Regions from separate parts of the Homo sapiens genome. Here region 1 is linked to region 2. The links are contacts of gene promoters, found by promoter capture Hi-C in blood cells and fetal thymus (Javierre and others, 2016). All regions are on one chromosome and are shown on one strand. The core of a region is centred on a gene start or on the middle of the fragment in contact, and the rest is flanking DNA. Distances in the headings are between cores, read along the strand shown. Region 1 overlaps STARD7 (StAR related lipid transfer domain containing 7). Region 2 holds the start of LMAN2L (lectin, mannose binding 2 like).

Region 1 (6,536 bases), core at 3,131-5,630, 550 kb before region 2:
AGTAATCCCAGCTACTCGGGAGGCTGAGGCAAGAGAACTGCTTGAACCCGGGAGGCGGAGGTTGCAGTGAGCCAAGATCACGCCATCGCACTCCAGCCTGGGCAACAAGAGCGAAACTCATCTCAGAAAAACAAAACAAAACAAACAAAAACAAAAAAACAAAAAAAACACTTTGGGTGTTTTTTTTTTCTTTTTTTTGAGACAAGGTCTCACTCTGTTGCACAGTCTGGAGTGCAGTGATGCAATCTCGACTCAGTACAGCCTCCACCTCCTGGGCTCAAGCAGTCATCCCACCTCAACCTCCTGTGTAGCAGGGACTACAGGCATGCACTACCACCACAACTAATTTTTTATTTTTTGCAGAGACTGGGTCTTCCCTGTGTTGCCCAGGCTGATCTCAAACTCCTTGGCTAAAGAGATCCTCCTGCCTCAGCCTCCCAAAGTGCTGCGATTACAGGCATGAGCTACCGTGCTCAGCCAGAGTGTTAAATTTCTAATGGCCTTCCTAAACAGAAACATTGCACACATATTGCTACATTTCATTGCTGGGGAAGGAAGCTTCACATGGACTCCTCCAGACTCCTCCTGTGCCTTTTTCTCTTATGATCCAGCTGCATATCTTTACTCTGACACTGTCATAAATCTTAGCTGGGGGCTGGGCACGGTGGCTCATGCCTGTAATCCCAGCACTCAGAAAGGCCGAGGCGGGCGGATCACTTGAAGTCAGGAGTTCGAGACCAGCCTGGCCAACATGGTGAAGCCCTGTCTCTAATAAAAATACAAAAATTAGCTAGGCGTGGTGGTGCACATCTGTAATCCCAGCTACTTGGGAGGCTGAAGCAGGAGAATTGCTTGAACCTGGCAGGTGGAGGTTGCAAGTGAGCCAAGATCGCACCACTGCACTCCAGCCTGCACAACAGAACGAGACTCCGTCTCCAAAAAAAAAAAAAAAAAATCAATATTTTGTACACAGTATGCACATCCTGAAGACAAAAAGACCACAAAATTTTATTCTTCGTATTATTGGTGATCTTACTGTATTGTTATTCTGAGGCTGTGTATTTCAACAAATTAGTAGTTGTGTTAGGGTTCCTGGGAATTGAGTTCTACAGTACAGGGAAAGACAAAAGATAGAAGATAGAAATAAAAACTCCATAGTCCTGAATTTGAATTAAAAGTATTAGTATATACTTAGGATTTATTTTATCTTAAAAATAAACATACCAGTAAAATGTATTACTTGGTTCTGTCTTCTGAAAAGGCCTACAAACAATAAACGACCCAATAGCTATGAATATTCTTAGCAGCCAAATTGTGGTATTTAAATGCCATTTTCCACTAAAAGGAACCAGGACTCCCTAAAGAAATGTTAATTTCCAGGTGTAAAACTAAAAATATACAAGATGAACCTACAACATCTTGTAACACCAGAAAGCAAGACAGCTTCTGGGGTCATGTCAAAGGGGCTTGAGCCAACAAGAAGACTCCCAATGACCAAAACTGGAATCAATTTGAGCATCAATAAGGATAATATATTTAAAAACTAAGTACATTTAAGTCTGTGTCTTTTTTTTTTTTTTTTTTTGAGACGAGTCTCACTGTGTCGCCCACGCTGGGGTGCAGCGGCACGATCTTGGCTCACTGCAACCTCTGCCTCCCAGGTTCAAGCCATTCTCTCCTGCCTCAGCCTCCCAAGTGGCTGGGATTACAGACACGTGCCACAATGCCTGGATAATTTTTGTACTTTTAGTAGAGACAGGGTTTCACCATGTTGGCCAGGCTGGTCTCAAAATCCTGACCTCAAGTTATCTACATGCCTCGGCCTCCCAAAGTGCTGGGATTACAGGCGTGAGCCACTGCGCCTGGCTTTTTTATTTTTTATTTTTTTTTTGAGAAGGGTCTCAAACTGTTGCCCAGGCTGGCATGCAGTGGCACAAACACGGCTTAATGCAGCCTTGACCTCCTGGACTCAAGTGATTCTCCCAACCTCAGCTTCCCAAGCAGCTGGGACTACAGGCACATATCACCATGCCTGGCTAATTTTTATTTTTTGTAGAGACCGGGTCTCTCCATGCTGCCTGGCCCAGAGCTGTTTTACAAATTTCTTACTTGGGCTGGGCACAGTGGCTCACGCCTCTAATCCCAGCATTTTGGGAGGCTGAGGTGGGAGGATTGCTTGAGTCCAGGAGTTTGAGACCAGCCTGCGCAGCATGGTGAGACCCCATCTCTACAAAAAATACAAAAAATTAGCCTGACATGTTGGCACACGCCTATAATCCCAGCTCCTCAGGAGGCTGAGGCAGGAGGATCACCTGAGCCCAGGAAGTCAAGGCTGCAGTGAGTTGTGATTGTACCACTGCACACTAGCCTGGGTAACAGTGGGAGACCCTGTTTCCAAAAAAACCCAAAATCCTTATTTGAGATAAATACTGAAATATATAATAGAAGAACTGGGTTCTCCTACAGTAAAGCTAGAATTTGCTTCAAAATAATCAGGGGAGTGAGAAAGGAAATGGGAAAGGGTATAGATAAAACAATTTTGGCCATAAGTTGATAACTGGAGCTGGGGATGGATACAGGGGGTTCATTATACTCTTCTACTTCTGTATCTTTTGTATCTATTTCAAATTTTCCATGATAAAAACCCCCTACCTTGGCTCAAAGATCTAATTCCCATTTGGCAAATCCAAACTCAGCTACATGGTTTTCGAGTACCCTCTGTACACAGTCAATGCAATTTATCACTTCTCCCTAACCTCTACTTTCCTCTCTAAGCATGTGAGTCTCTCAGTGCATACCTGGCTCATTCCTATCTTTGTCTTTGCTTGAATCATGTCTTCTAACCCTAGTGCCCTGCCTGCTTTCCTCTCTATCCAGTGTACTTTTTTTTTTGTTTTTTTTTACAAGGACCAACTCAAGTCCTTGAGGTGGTATAAATAAAACAACTTGATGAGAATAAGAAAACTACACTAAAGAACACTGTCCATATAGCCCTAAATCGAACACAAGCAATAGGGAGAAACAAAGCCATTATAAGGTGAAGTGGAACTAAAACCAGCAGCCACTAGCATCAATATCTATACTCTCAGTGGAGATTTAGCTTAAAAAGATAAAAAATAAACACAAAACACCTCATTAGGCTGAAATAAATATTCTTTTCAAAGAAAGGTCACAGAATTTTAAAGAAGGCAGACAGCATGAGTCCAATCTTCCCATTACTCTGGCAAGGAAGCAGAAATCCAGAAAAGTTTCCATCCAGTGCTCTGCCCACTGTAGTAAAATGTTGACAGGAGGTACTCGCTCTAGTTCCTGAAGAATGCTACTGATACAGGCTAATGCGTCAGTGGCTATGATTCTTTTAACTATCTCTCAGATAAGAGGGAACCAATGGATTGCCACTACTTTGTCCTTGGGGAACTTCCAGGTACATCACCTACGTCAGGAGTTCCCAAAAAATGGTTCCCAGACCAGTAGCATCAGACTCCCCCGAGCGAGAACTGTTCCTGCGCCACACCCCCTCCTCCCTAGTTCAGGTAAGACATCCCTTGAGAAAATTCCACAGCCATGACATGTTATCTCTTGGATGAGGTAAAACTCACCTCATCAAATGACTTGTGGGGACGGATAACCATTTGGGATTCATATGATCTGACCCTGACGAATTCTGGAGACTCTGGCACACTCGGATGCTCCACAGCACTGGTAAGGAGGAAAGGAGAAGCAAACTCTTAGTAATGTCTATATATAAAACAACAGGAGAGCTAAGTTAAGGGGAAGGCCTAAAAAGCTGGCTCTGATATTTTTAAATACACAAAACAAAGGAGTCACTAAGATGAATAAATACAAACTAAGTTCTAAAAATGAAGCGAAGGCCAGACGTGGTGGCTCATGCCTGTAATCCCAACACTGGGAAGCCAAGGAAGGAAGATCACTTGAGGCCAGGAGTCCAAGACCAGCCTGGACCACACTGTGAAACCCTGCGTCTACAACAAACAAATGAATTAATTAAAAATGAAGTGAGTTCCTTTGGTAATTTACGGCTCACTAGGCTGTGGGTCAAAAACAACAGCACTTCTTTTGATTACCAACATTAAAGAACCCAAAAAAACAGTTTAACTAAAAGCTTGTATCTCTCCATTCTTTCTAGACAGTCAGAGTCCCTCATCTTCTAGCTGGATGGAAGGGGCACTGGCTGCAGGGAAGCCTGTGGGAGACTCATAGGACACTAAGAATATACAAACTCAGGTACGTAGGAATGAAGGCCACAGCTAAAGGAACTCGGCAACAGCCACAGGCAGCCATACATACCGCGACACCAACACCATCATGTTGTTTTCCTGATCCACACTATACCGCCGAACATAAACATAATCCCGTGAGTACATTGGATACTAAAGAAATGGAGGAGCAGGATTAGTGTTCTGCATCACACAAACCTGGACAGAAATAAAATCAGAAGTAAAAATACTCACAGGAAAATGGGTTACCCAGTGAAGAACCTCGGAACCACTAACCACATCCCTCTCAATCACCTCCAGCTTGATTACCAGGGCATCCCATTTTTTTCTATACTCTGTGTCCAGCTGCAGAAAGAGAAAAGACCATGAATACCCAAGAAGACCCAAAACAAAAATGCAGAAAGCTTTCCAGATGCTTTGGTCTCTGATCCAAGAATCTTATTACAAGGAGAGAGTAATCTGACCTAACAGACAGTGCCAGAGTGTGAGAGACATGGCTGTGTTTACTACAGATGTTTCTTTCAAAATCACCTTATACAGGCTAATGTCATTACACTGAATGTGAATCTTCATTAGACAAACCAAGGAAAAGTGTAACAAAATATTTTAATAGACACATCTGGGGAAAATAATATATAGTGATATGAATGTGTAAGGGTAAGACAATTCTAAAAAGTTTTAAACAACAAAAAGTCCAAAAGTATTAAGTAGACACTTCACACACAAAAATGCAAGCAGCATATTTTTTTAAATTTCTGGCATCACTAGTAACTGAAGATTTTCAACTTAAGACAGATATACCATATACATAAAACCAACAAAAATTCACTACAAATTAACAAGATCCAGTACCTCAGGGAAAGTGCACTTGCACGTTAGAGTGAGTGTTATAACCAACGAAGTAGTTATCGGAAGTCAGCAAAACAAATGAAAAATCCAGAAAGAAAAAAATTTTGTTCTAGAACTCTGGGCGATCCCACCTCCCTGTTTCATTTTTTAAACCATCTTCCCCTACAAGGAGGAAAGCAGTCTTTGAACAGATACTCTTCATCTTTATGAAATAAACATTGGGCCAACACAGTGACTCACACCTGTAATCCCGGCACTTTGGGAGGCAAAGGCAGGAGGATCACTAGAGCCCAGGGAGTTCAAGACCAGCCTAGGAGACATAGGGAGACCCTGTCTCTAAGAAAAAAAAATTTTAATTAGCCAAGTGTGGTGGCGCATGCCTGTAGGCCTGGAAGCTGAGGTGGGAGGATCACTTGAGTCCAGGAAACAAAGGCTGCAGCAAGACATGATCACACCACTGTACTCCAGCCTGGGTAACACAGCAGGACCCTGTCTCAGGGAGAGGAAAGAAAAAAAAAAACCCTCCACTATGGAAATGTTCTTGATTTGAGGTTAAACAGATGTGACAACTAAATATAATCCTATCTGTACTGAAGTGGAAAATGCTATAAAGGACATTGAGTCAACTGATAAAACTGATAAATACAAACAGAGGACTACATGAAAGTGTTCCATCAGTGTTAAATTTACTAATTTCAATAATGGTATCATGATTAGTTAAGAAATACGGCATATGGCTAGTTTTAGGAAATACACACTGGAAGAATTTAGGAGTAAAGGACTATGATGTATGTAACTTACTCTTAAGTTGTTTGGGGAAAAAAACAATAAAGCCTCATAAAATACATTAAAGTATTCATATCCATTCCTCTATCTGATATTCCCAACAGTCCTGTGGGAGGGTAAAACTGATCTCATCCCCATGGGACAGATAAAGAAATTCTAAGTCAAATGTTTACCTAAATGCTATGCAATGTGGATGACAGGTAGATAGATGGATGTACTTAAGCCAATGTCACCTGAGTCAGATAAATGATTCATGTAGACAGTAGCAATTGATATGCTAGGAGGCTCCAAATCTGGAGAGAAAAATTAACTCACCTGAACATTGAAGAACTGCCGAGGTGTCACATCTGTGTAGGTTCCAAAAACTAGAATGAAAAGAAAGAATAAGGGATGCTGGCCATACTCCAGTCACTCGCCTTGTTTCTTTCACCTAGCGGCGTTTCAGATCTAAAGTACTAAGAGATCTTAAAGGCAGGTTCAGAAACTAGAAGTCTTAGTAGAGCAACAAAGAAAGACAAAGAGGATGTAAGCAAAGACAACACTGAGACATTTGTCATCTGGGAGAAGAAAAACAATAAACAAAAAACTACGGCAAATTTTCTGAGAAACAACCAGAACAGTTTAGAGAAGTATGAAGAACAGAAATCCCATGCACCTGTGCAA
Region 2 (5,841 bases), core at 1,184-3,683:
TATAATCTTCTTACAAAGTGGTTAAGCAGGAGTTAAGTTATTATTAAACCCTAAGAAGTAGTACTATTGGGCCAATCAGGAATTAACGACATTTCAGGAAAAAAAAATGAATTATTTGCTATAATTAAATAGAGAGCATTTTCCTAAATACCTGATTTATTTATTATCAAGGTCAGAATAATCTCAAAAATAAAGATCCTTGATATCCACAGAAGATAGAATACCAGGGGGATAGACAGTAAAATTAAATCAGTATGCCACTGCTGAACTTTTTAGGCCTTTCTGGGTCACCAACACAGGAGGGAGAAAGATTCTTACCACCCGGTTCCACAAGGCACCCTGTTTACTTTGCATATCTGGGGTAAGGCGGATATACTGGGTCATCACCATGGCATTGCCCATCAGATTCCACAGTGAGGAACTGCCTGTGCCCACACCTACAGGAAGGAAGTAGATCAGTTCATACTTTTCAACACCAATCCATTCAGAAAGCAGCCACCACAGAGCCTCTGAAAGCTGAGCCATCATCTTTTTCCCCCTTTAATGTCACTCAATCTCCTATCTTCTCTCAGTCATGAATCTTACCATCTCTACAGCTTTCACAAGGCCTTTATCAGGTAAGGACCCCAAAGCACATCAGAACTCTCACTTTATGCATGTTACAGTAACCATAGCTCACATCCATTCTTCCCGTTTTATATGTGAGTAAACTTCAGCATCGTAAAAGAAAAAAATTTTCCTGAGTTATATCAAAAAGAGTTTGACAGGCCAGGTGCAGTGGCTCACCCATGTAATCCCCACACTTTGAGATGATGTGGAGGGAGGGCATCTTGAGGTCAGCAATTTGAGACCAGCCTGGGCAACATAGAAAGACCCTGTCTTTACCAAAAAAAAAATTAGCCAGGTGTGGTAGTCCTTGTCCATAGTCCTAGCTACTCAGGAGGCTGAGTTGGGAGCATCGCTTGAGCCCAGGAGATTGAAACTGCATGAGCCATGATTGTGCCACTGCACTCCAGCCTAGGCAACGGAACAAGACCTTGTCTCTAAAAATATATAAATATAAATAAAAAGAGTTTGACCCTCAGGCCTCCGGGGCTTAGTCACATTCTTCCTTTTTTTTTTTTCTTTGAGATGGAGTCTCGCTCTGTTGCCCAGGCTGAAGTGCAGTGGCATGACCTCGGCTCACTGTAAGCTCTGCCTCCCGGGTTCACGCCATTCTCCTGCCTCAGCCTCCTGAGTAGCTGGGACTACAGGCGCCCGCCACCACACCTGGCTAATTTTTTTGTATTTTCAGCAGAGATGGGGTTTCACCGTGTTAGCTAGGATGGTCTCAATCTCCTGACCTCGTGATCCGCCCACCTCGGCCTCCCAAAGTGCGGAGATTACAGGCGTGAGCCACCGCCCCAGCCGTCACATTCTTTCTTTAAACAATCCTTAAAGTGTGAAGCTACTCCCTGTACCCTCACCTATAAACTTCTTTAAGAATGAAAACTTTGTGTCTGCAAACCCATAAGCATTAGCAAAGAGACAGCACAGAGGCACTCCAGGCATGTAAGTGAATAAATGATTACCCTTAGTAGTAGAGTATACTCTTGCACTTTGAATTGTTTTCTGTCCCACTACCTACGCCTTAGTGGGGAAAGACTTGTGTTAGTTAAGCCATCTGCACTGGTTTGTCATCGTTTTGTGGCTAACTGCATTAATTTTCTGGCTGATAAGCTGTGCTTAGAGTTCTGTGAACCCTAACCTCTTTCACCAACAGGGCCCCTAGGCTGGAGAAGAGAAGGTGGTTCTACCCAGCAACATAAATTTATCATCTTCTCATTTCGTTCAAGTTCTACCCCAGTTCTTCCTCCTGCTTTATTTCTAGCACATCCACAGGTCCATCTGGAGACTGGCTCATTGCTAGTAGCCCTCAATCACTCCTCACCATTCTCAATTCTCTCCCCTTCCCAAACTCCTCCTGTCTAACTCCAGGCCTAGTACTAGTGGCACCCGACAGCCCTGCCTTTACCTACTGGAAACTTCCAGAGCTTGGCAGGCACACCTAACTCCTGCCTTTCAGACCTGTGGCTCCCAAACGCGGAGGGAGTCTCCGTGGGCCCCACCACCGCCAGCAGTTTCCTCCGGGCCACGAAGCCCTTCGCCGCCCCCGCCTCTACCCCTGAAATCAAGTCCCGAAGCCCGCCCCACTGCACGACCACCTCACCCTGGGCGCCTCACCCTGGTAGGGCTTCGACAGCGAGTGCTCCCGTTTCAAGTACTCGAACGTTTGACCCGCCCCGACTTGCTGTGGCCCCTGCCCAGACCCCAACAAAAGAAGAAGGAGTAACATCCTGGACCCATCCCGAGCCGACAAACATCGCCGCCACTGCTGCCACGACCCAAGGGGTCCCAGAGTCGCCGCCATCTTTCCCACCAACGACCCTTCATCAAAAGCCCGCCCCGTCGCCCAACCCATTGGCCCGAAGAGCCATCTGCCCTGCGTCCTATTGGCTTTCGTCAAGCCCCCGCCCCTGCAGGTGACTATATCACCGATTGGCTGGCTTCTGTATCAGTTGCCTTGCCAACCCAGAAAAGGGGCGTAGCCGAATGCCCAGCCCCCCCCCTTATTTGCATTTGCCCTGAGTTCCACTAGGCTTGCTGGGATACGTAGTTTATTTGTATTTTGTTTTCTGCGTACGAGAGTAAATTTAAAGAGATAAAACGTTTCTTCTGGTCCCAAACATTCTATCCTCTCTGCAATAGTACGCTCCTGACTGCAGCTCTCTGAATCAATTTGGAAGATATAGCAGTGAAAGGAGAAATAGACAAATCCGTAAAATAGCTGGAAAACTATCAATTTATAAAAGACTTGAACAGCACTACCAACTAACTTGACCTGATGATATTTATAGAAACTCCACCTAACAACTGCGGAAGACACATTCTCTTCAAATGCAAATGACTCCTTTGCCGTGATAGTCTGGGCCATCAAGCAACCTACAGATATAAAAGAACTGAAAGCACACAAATTAATTAATTCTAAAAGCCATCACCTCCTTTCCTCCCTTCCTCTTTTTTTTCTTTTTGGTTTGAGACGAGGTCTTGGCCAGGCGCGGTGGCTCACGCCTGTAATCCCAGCACTTTGGGAGGCCGAGGCAGGCGGATCACCTGAGGTTGGGAGTTCGAGACCAGCCTGACCAAGGTGGAGAAACCCCGTCTCTATTAAAAATAAAAAAAAAAATTAGCCAGGCGTGGTGGCACGTGCCTGTAATCCCAGCTACTGGGAGGCTGAGGCAGGAGAATCGCTTGAACCTGGGAGGCAGAGGTTGCAGTGAGCCGAGACCAAGCCATTGCACTCCAGCCTGGGCCACATAGAGCAAAACTCCATCTCAAAAAAAAAAAAAAAAAGAGAGACAAGGTCTTGCTCTGTTGCCCAGGCTGGAGTGCAGTGGCACAATCTCAGCTCCAGCCTCTCCCTCCCTGGCTGAAGTGATCCTGCCACCTTAGCCTCCTGAGTTACTGGGACTACAGGCACATCCCTTCGTCTTTATCCGGCACCACAACATGTGTCCAGACTGGTCTCCACGTAGCCACTAAAGTGATCCAAACTATCTAACCATGGTAAGTGTCAGGGTTAAATGAGTCAATATTGGTAAACCTCTTAGAACAGTGCCTTGCGTGTAGTAAGCACTATTTCTTTCTTTTTTCTTTTCTTTTTTTTTTTGTTTTTGTTTTTGTTTTTGTTTTTGAGACAGGGTCTCTCTCTGTCACCCAGGCTGGAGTGCAGTGGCATGACCACAGCCTCAACCTCCTGGACTCAAGGGATCTTCCCACTTCAGCCTCTCAAGTAGCTGGGACTACAGGTGTGTGCCACCTCACCTTGCTAATTTTTATTTTTTGTAGCTATGGGGTTGTGGGGGAGGTCTCACTAAGTTGCCCAGATTTGTCTCATACTTCTAGACTTCAGTGATCCTCTCTCCTCAGCCTCCCAAAGTGCTGGGATTAGAGGTGTAAGCCACCGCACCAAGCCATAAGCGCTATTTCATCATCATCATTCTTATTAACCGGGCCTTTGATGGCTCACCATCACCTGTGGGGAGGAGATTCAAGCCCCTCAATTTGGCACACAAAGCCCCCTGCCATCTGGCCCTGGCCTTATTGCCCATGACTCTTTTCCTCCATCTTTATGCTCCAGCTTCCCTTCCCTCTTTTTTTTTTCTGCAGTCCACTTCCTTCTGGAGGTCCTTCTCAAACCTCTCAGGCAGGGTAGATTCTCCTGTCTGAGCTCTCAAAGTGTTCCATGCACATCTCATATAGAGCAATTGACAGATCTGTGTTTATGTCTTCCCAATAGACTTAACCAAAGTTAACACTCTCTTGCTTTCCTGAGCATGAATATATTTAATAAGATAAACATAATTATGAGCCTACTTTACAGGGGATCAACTTTTTAAAATTAAAGCTGTCACAGCTATTTTTTTTAAAGAGATGGGGTCTTGGCTGGGCACGGTGGCTCAGGCCTGTAATCCCAGCACTTTGGGAGGCAGGCGGATCACCTGAGGTCAGGAGTTCAAGACCATCCTGGCCAACATGGTGAAACCCCATCTCTACTAAAAATACAAAAAATTAGCCAGCCGTGGTGGCACACGCCTGTAGTCCCAGCTACTCAGGAGGCTGAGGCAGGAGAATCACTTGAACCCAGAAGGCGGAGGTTGCAGTGAGCCGAGACCGCACCACAGCACTCCAGCCTGGGCAACACAGTGAGACTTCGTCTCGAAAAATATATATATACATATATATACAAAAATTAAATGGGCGTGGTGGCAGGTGCCTGTAATCCCAGATACTTGGAAGGCTGAGGCAGGAGAATCACTTGAACCCAGGAGGTAGAGGTTGCAGTGAGTCAAGAAGATCCCACCACCATACTCCAGCCTGAGCAGCAGATCCGTCTCAAAAAAACAAAAAAAAGAAGAAATGGGGTCTCAATCCATCAGGCTGGGGTGCAGTACTGTGATCATAGCTCACTACAGTCTCAAACTGCTGGGTGAGCCTCAGCTAATTTTTAAAATTTTTTCTAAAGATGGGGGTCTCTATGTTGCCCAGGCTGGTTTTGAACTTCTGGCCTTAAGCGATCCTCCCACCTCATCTCTCAAAGTGCTGAGATTACAGGTGTGAGCCATGGTGCCCAGCCTGTCACTGCCATCAGTCTTTGACACCCTACAATGTCAAATGTCTGGTGCTAAGACTTTAGGAATTGCAATGAATCTGTTCGTGTCATACACTGGCTTTAAAACCATTCATAACTCCCAATTACCAAAATCCAAAGTCCTTAGTGTAGCATTCAAAGCCCTTTGCATCCTGACTGAAATCAGGCGCTACGCATGTGTACTGTAATGTGTGTCACCTGGAATTATGGAGCTCAATTAACAGATTATGGGTTTGTCTCCGCAGCAAGGCTGGGAGCTCCAGGACCACAGGAAGCAGGTCTTACTCATTTCCTAACTCAGGCCCCACCCATTTCCCCAACCCCAACCTATCACCCAGCACATAGTAGGGGTTCTAATTGTTTTGAATAAATTATTTCCATTGCATTTCTCTGCAAGATGAATTTTTAATTGTAGTAAAATGCACATAAAGGCCGGGCGCGGTGGCTCACACCTGTAATCCCAGCACTTTGGGAGGCCGAGGTGGGTGGCTCATCTGAGGTCGGGAGTTCGAGACCAGCCTGACCAACATGAAGAAACCCCGTCTCTACTAAAAATACAAAATTAGCCGGGTGTGGTGGCGCATGCCTGTAATCCCAGCTAGTTGGGAGGCTGAGGCAGGAGAATCGCTTGAACCTGGGAAGTGGAGGTT

What was found. Contacts are between HindIII fragments. The CHiCAGO score rates a contact against its expected background, and 5 or more counts as called.
Region 1: a contact is called between a fragment that was not itself captured here and the fragment with the promoter of LMAN2L in region 2, in 1 of 17 cell types (total CD4 T cells). The highest score is 6.2, in total CD4 T cells.

The regions. Positions count from the first base shown.
Region 1 is chr2:96,188,770-96,195,305 of GRCh38, forward strand. STARD7 (StAR related lipid transfer domain containing 7) reads right to left here. Exons shown (of 8, transcript NM_020151.4): 3 at 6,189-6,238; 4 at 4,473-4,583; 5 at 4,309-4,391; 6 at 3,600-3,699. Among named protein-coding and RNA genes, the nearest start is that of STARD7-AS1, 16 kb to the right of the region's middle. The HindIII fragment of the contact is 519 bases long and covers 4,122-4,640 here.
Region 2 is chr2:96,737,631-96,743,471 of GRCh38, forward strand. It overlaps LMAN2L (lectin, mannose binding 2 like), which reads right to left and starts at 2,434. Exons shown (of 8, transcript NM_030805.4): 1 at 2,224-2,434; 2 at 319-437. The coding sequence starts at 2,410. RefSeq lists enhancers at 810-1,749, 1,750-2,687. The HindIII fragment of the contact is 9,784 bases long and covers 1-5,841 here.